Regions from separate parts of the Homo sapiens genome. Here region 2 is linked to region 1. Evidence: promoter capture Hi-C in human tissues and cell types (Jung and others, 2019). All regions are on one chromosome and are shown on one strand. Each heading gives the region's core, a stretch centred on a gene start or on the middle of the fragment in contact. The rest is flanking DNA. Distances are from core to core; before and after follow the strand shown.

The links. Contacts are between HindIII fragments. The study calls those that stand out against the background at their distance.
Region 2: a fragment that was not itself captured here is called in contact with the fragment with the promoter of BCDIN3D in region 1 in 1 of the 25 tissues and cell types used here (dorsolateral prefrontal cortex).

Annotation. Positions count from the first base shown.
Region 1 is chr12:49,841,502-49,844,730 of GRCh38, forward strand. It overlaps BCDIN3D (BCDIN3 domain containing RNA methyltransferase), which reads right to left and starts at 1,605. Exons shown (of 2, transcript NM_181708.3): 1 at 1,353-1,605. The coding sequence starts at 1,586. RefSeq lists enhancers at 948-1,317, 1,888-1,947. The HindIII fragment of the contact is 12,873 bases long and covers 1-3,229 here.
Region 2 is chr12:49,271,537-49,274,765 of GRCh38, forward strand. It overlaps TUBA1C (tubulin alpha 1c), which reads left to right. Exons shown (of 4, transcript NM_032704.5): 4 at 717-3,064. The coding sequence ends at 1,691. Among named protein-coding and RNA genes, the nearest start is that of TUBA1C, 8.1 kb to the left of the region's middle. RefSeq lists a silencer at 2,450-2,744. The HindIII fragment of the contact is 6,713 bases long and covers 1-3,229 here.

The DNA of each region.
Region 1 (3,229 bases), core at 355-2,854:
TCATGTGTATACTACTCTCAACTTTAAAATCTCTGGTGGTTTCCTAATGCCTTTCGTGAAATCCCAAGCCTTAACCTCAGTCTCTCTTTTCCATTGTTTTTACCCTCTGACTTCCCGTATCATCACAGCGGAGAAATTTTGCAGGGGACACAGGACATCAACCCATCTCCTCATTCCAGTCTTTGAGACTGTATCCAAATGTCCCCTTCCTACTATCATCTGAGTCCCACAAGGTCTGAAGTCGTCCCCCAAAGTCTCTTCTGTAAAAGGACAGCAACGTAACAGAATTGTCCCCCGCCCTCCAGATGCTGGACTGGAGTGATGGAGGGAGCGCAGAGAGGGTACTAACTTTTGAAGCATTTGCCGTGGTAAGTTCAGACTGCCTGCTAGTGTAGAATATCCCAGTGGCTACAAATAGGTGTGGGAGAGACATTTCCTTATTTTGCATGTGGTTTGATTATAATCATATGCCTAAGAATAGTTTGCAGCAAGAAGAGTGGCAGTGCCGCCCTTCTCCATTCCCTTGGGCAAAATGCTTTATTTGCTTCTCGATCCTCTCCACTGTACTCTGTCAACTCACTGTTTTGTTTTGTTTTTGAGACGGAGTCTCGCTCTGTCGCCCAGGCTGGAGTGCAGTGGCACTAGCTCGGCTCACTGCAAGCTCCGCCTCCCGGGTTCACGCCATTCTCCTGCCTCAGCCTCCGGAGTAGCTGGACTACAGGCGCCCGCCACCACGACCGGCTAATTTTTTGTATTTTTAGTAGAGACGGGGTTTCACCGTGTTAGCCAGGATGGTCTCGATCTCGTGACCTTGTGATCCACCCGCCTCGGCCTCCGAAAGTGCTGGGATTACAGGCGTGAGCCAGCGCGCCCGGCCTACTCACTTTTTTTGAAATAAACATGCAGGTCCCAGGGTCTGTCCTGCACTGTATAGCACACATGAGTCTCAATATCAGGCATGATTCTGTCACCCTTGGCTCTTCTCTCCCAGTAAACCAAACCTAACCCCATGTTCCCAAACGTGTGTCTCTGGAAGCCCCCTCTCCCCAGCCAAAGCGCCAGGCACGCTGGACAGAGGCCACCCTAGATACAAGGACCGTTCCCACCTGGGGTCTGGCCCTGAAAGAAAAGTGGGAACGTAGTCGACAAGGACTCCTCTCCAAGAGAGATTCCTAAGACAGATGGTGGAACCCTGGCGGGCAGGCAGCAGCGGCACTGGCTCAGTCAAAGCCACGCTTTATACTCGTTTTGGGAAAGTTTCGATGGGTGTTAGCCCAGGCCAGAACCACAGTGGATGTGTAGGCAGCCAACCACTTGGCTCCGGATGCTCCAATCCCTCCCCTGTCACTCACCCCGGAGTTACACCCCACGTCGAGCCCCAGAATCGGCCCGTTCTCGGGACTCTCAGGAAAGAGCTGTCGAAGCAGCTCCGGGGGCAGGAGGCGGAGCCGTTGCTCCGGAGGGTGGAAGCGAGAATAATGAGGAAAATTTCCGAACGGGGCGGCGCCAGGTGCCAGAACTCGCGATTCCTCTTCCGCTGCGGTCTCCTTAACACTCCCTCCATCCAGTTCCGTGGGCACCGCCATTAGCCTCAACACAGCCTCTGGGCCGTGGCGGAACCGGAAGCCGGGAACCTGCTGTCGGCGTGGGCGGTGGCGGTGCCAGCGCGCGTGCGTCGAACGGCTAGGGCGGGTGGCTAGAATTCTGCGGTGAATCAGAAAAGCTGTCCTGATTTCCTCTCGCTGTATACCTGGAGCCGGCGAGCGCCTGGGGCTTGCCTTGTATTATTGAACCCTCATCACAACACTGGGAGGGGATTAGCAATATCATCCACGTTTTACAGGGATGAAACAAACTCTGAGGGCTAAGTGTCTTGGCCAAGCTGACATAGTTTGAAACTTGGGCTACTTGACCCAGAACAAGTATACTAGTTTGTTGGGATCTTGGAAATCAATTTTAGTCCAATTTCCTTTCTTTATAAATGCAAAAAGTGAGACCGAGAGAACTTACTTGTCTGGGGTCATACATTGAATCTGTGACTCAAAAACTTCCACCCGGTTCAGGAAAGGGTAGCCAGGAGGTGCAGGTCACTTGCGAAGCCAGCCGACTCAGCCCTGTCCCCCAGGGGCAACTGTAGACCATGAGCTCCTTGAGAGGCAAGGACCGTGCCTTAAGAGCCAGCACTTAAAGAGTGCTTACCAGGCACCAGACACCCTTGTAAGCTCCTTAGTCAATCCTCTCACCCCGTGAGAAAATGACCGTATTATTATTCTTTTTATATAGATGAGGACACTGGAGTAAAACAAAGTAACTTGTCCAAGATCCCACAGTTAGAAATGATGGTACTAGGATTCGAACCCAGGGAGTTTGGATCCAGAGGATGTGCTTGCAACGGTGTGTTATTCTCAGCCTTGAGTCTCCTATACTTAACATGGGCCTGGCACAAAGATGCTCAACAAATGTTGTTGAATGAAAACTCAATAGAGAATACAATAAGGCCAGATCTGTTTGGGGAAACTTTAAATGGAAGGGAGAAAGGATGCCAACTGAAGCAGACATAGTGGAATGGAGTTGGGCAAGATGTGACTCAGAGATTGGAAATAACAGAGCTGATAAGGAGAGGAACTGAAGGGTCAACCTAGGTAGCAGGTTCCAGTCAAAAGCCAGGATGGCCCAGAATATCCGTCAGGGTCAACCAAGCATCAGCAGAGTTGTGCAGGACCCCCAACCCCACCCCTGCACCTGGCCCACCCATCTTAAAGGGGTATCCTGCTCCATGAGGCTGGCAGTTCGGTAAACTTCTTATAAGGCACTGGAGCATGACTCCTGCAAACAGTACCATCAGGAGTTAAAATAAGCGCTGTTTTCCTCTCAGTTTTTACTTTATATTTTCTTTTTCTTTTCTCCTTTTTTTGAGATAGAGTCTCACACTATTGCCTGGGCTGGAGTGCAATGACATGATCTCGGCTCACTGCAACCTTTGCCTCCCAGGTTCAAGTGATTCTCCTGCCTCAGCCTCCCAAGTAGCTGGAATTACAGGCACCCGCCACCATTCCTGGCTAAGTTTTTGTATTTTTTAGTAGAGACGGGGTTTCACTATGTTGGCCAGGCTGGTCTCGAACTCCTGACCTCGTGATCTGCCCACCTCGGCCTCCCAAAGTGTTGGGATTACAGGCGAGAGCCACCACGCCCAGCCTTTATATTTTCATCTCTATCTGGCCTGCTGTTT
Region 2 (3,229 bases), core at 314-2,813, 570 kb before region 1:
TAAGGTGATTACTATTCTCACTTAATCAGTGGAAGAACTGAGAAATGAATGTGGTCATACAGTAAGGAACTGGTACAGCCGGATCCTGACACAGCCTGACTCCAGTACCAGGGTGTTAGAACTTTGGCTATTCTGTTGTTCCACCTCAGAAAGCAGCTGCCAAATCTTTACAAGACATCCACTGTACCAGGCTGGTGGTCCTGGGCCTGCCCCTTAGGACCTCTCCAACTAAGAAACTGCCCTGTTCTGTGGCCACAGCAAGAGAACCAGAGGCTGCCTTCCCAGTTACCAAAACTTGAGCCCTGTATGCAAGCCCAGGCCTTGTGATTCCTCTGCCTAAGGCAATAGTTCATCTTAAAATAGTCTTAGCAAAGGTTTTTCTGCTCAAGGACTTGATTGTGAAAAGTTGTTCTGAATCACTTAGCACTTAAAAGCTTTTTTTTTTTTTTGGAGACAGGGTCTGCTCTGTCATCCAGGCTGGAGTGCAGTGGCCTGATCATCAGTCTTGAACCCCTGGGCTCAAATGCAAATGGTCCTCCCACCTTGGACCCCCAAAGTGTTGATTACAGGCGTGAGCCACTGCGCCTGGCCCAGAAGAGTTTTAAAATTGCAATTGGAGTAGCCATAGATTTATAGAAGTCCTCTGTAGGTTTCACCAAATGTGAACACTAAATGAAACTTTCGCAACACTAAAATGAAACTTTTTTATTTTGCAGGCTGACCAGTGCACCGGTCTTCAGGGCTTCTTGGTTTTCCACAGCTTTGGTGGGGGAACTGGTTCTGGGTTCACCTCGCTGCTCATGGAACGTCTCTCAGTTGATTATGGCAAGAAGTCCAAGCTGGAGTTCTCCATTTACCCGGCGCCCCAGGTTTCCACAGCTGTAGTTGAGCCCTACAACTCCATCCTCACCACCCACACCACCCTGGAGCACTCTGATTGTGCCTTCATGGTAGACAATGAGGCCATCTATGACATCTGTCGTAGAAACCTCGATATCGAGCGCCCAACCTACACTAACCTTAACCGCCTTATTAGCCAGATTGTGTCCTCCATCACTGCTTCCCTGAGATTTGATGGAGCCCTGAATGTTGACCTGACAGAATTCCAGACCAACCTGGTGCCCTACCCCCGCATCCACTTCCCTCTGGCCACATATGCCCCTGTCATCTCTGCTGAGAAAGCCTACCACGAACAGCTTACTGTAGCAGAGATCACCAATGCTTGCTTTGAGCCAGCCAACCAGATGGTGAAATGTGACCCTCGCCATGGTAAATACATGGCTTGCTGCCTGTTATACCGTGGTGACGTGGTTCCCAAAGATGTCAATGCTGCCATTGCCACCATCAAAACCAAGCGTACCATCCAGTTTGTGGATTGGTGCCCCACTGGCTTCAAGGTTGGCATTAATTACCAGCCTCCCACTGTGGTGCCTGGCGGAGACCTGGCCAAGGTACAGAGAGCTGTGTGCATGCTGAGCAATACCACAGCTGTTGCCGAGGCCTGGGCTCGCCTGGACCACAAGTTTGACCTGATGTATGCCAAGCGTGCCTTTGTTCACTGGTACGTGGGTGAGGGGATGGAGGAAGGCGAGTTTTCAGAGGCCCGTGAGGACATGGCTGCCCTTGAGAAGGATTATGAGGAGGTTGGAGCAGATAGTGCTGACGGAGAGGATGAGGGTGAAGAGTATTAACCTGTGTGCTGTACTTTTACACTCCTTTGTCTTGGAACTGTCTTATTTTTGTTCTGTAAATGTCTATTGCCGTAAATTGTTAATAAAATTGAAGTTTCCATTTTAAATGTCGAGCTGACTTAAATACTTGATCCAGTTAAAGTTGGATGTATGAGGCTGGTAGATGAAACCACCTGAGTCGAGGGTCTTGCTCTGTCACCCAGGCTGGAGTGCAGTGGCATGATAATACATAGCTCATTGCAGCCTCGAGCTCCTGGACTCATGTGATTCTCCTGCTTCAGCCTCCTAAGTAGCTGGGGACTGCAGGTGCACACCACCATGCCCAGCTATTTTTATTTCTTGTAGAGATGGGGCCTTGCTATGCTGCCCAGGGTGGTCTTCAACTGGCTTCAAGTGATCCTCCTGCCTCAACCTCTCAAAGTTTTGATTATAGGCATGAGCCACTGCCCAGCTTCTTGGTTTATCTGTTTAATTTGGGCCTGAATTAAGTGGTTATAGAATCATTTTGTAAGTGAGGAAACGGGTTCAGATTGAGCCAGTGCTTCTCTAACTAAAATGGATGTGAATCACCTGTAGATATTAAAATGCAGGTTTGGGGTCAACCTGGTGGCTCATGCACTTCGGGAGGCCAAGTTGGGTGGATCACGAGCCCAGGAATTCGAGACCAGCCTGGGCAACATGGTGAAAACCCATCTCTACCAAAACAAAAATTTGCATGCTGTGATGGCACCTGCCTATAGGTGGGAGGACCACCTGAGCCCAAGGAGGTTGAGGTAGTGAGCCATGATTGCACCACTGCATTCCAGCCTGGGTGACGGAGACCCCTGACTCTCAAATTTAAAAACAAAATGCAGGTTCTAATTCTATAGGCTTGAGGTGAGGCTTCAGACACGTCTTAAATTTTTTTTCTTTGAGATGGTCTCTTTCCCAGGCTGCAGTGCAATGGCACCATCATAGCTCACCCCCACCTTGACCTGGGCTAAGCCATCCTCCCACCTCAGCCTCCCAAGTAGCCAGGACTACAGGTGTGTTCCACCATGCCTGGCTGATTCTTGTAATTTTTTTTTTTTTTTTTTTTTTTTTTTTTGGTAGAGATGGGGTTTTGCCATGTTGCTTAGGCTGGCCTTGAACTCCTGGGCTCAGGCAATCCTGCCTCAGCCTCCCAAAGTGCTGGGATTACAGGAGTGAGCCACTACACCTGGCCCCTAGATACGTTTTTTAATAACCTCCCAAATGATGCTGTTGGTCTGATGTGACCACATGTACAGTAGCAAAGGGTTAGATAACAGTAACTGCTGGAGCCAAAATTCAAGTGCCCAGCCACACTGCCAGAACTATTGCTGTCAGTCTTTAATAAAGTATTAGTCACACGAGAAGGGCTTGGAATCCTGATTTATTCCATACTTAGCTAAGACCTACAGTGGCAAAGATGGTTCGTACTAAAGGGGTTATTGTTTAGAGAAAGTGGAAATGTCAGACAAAATAACAGTCACCGGTTTTTCTGGTATTGGCATTTGACCCAATTGTATGTCATGGAG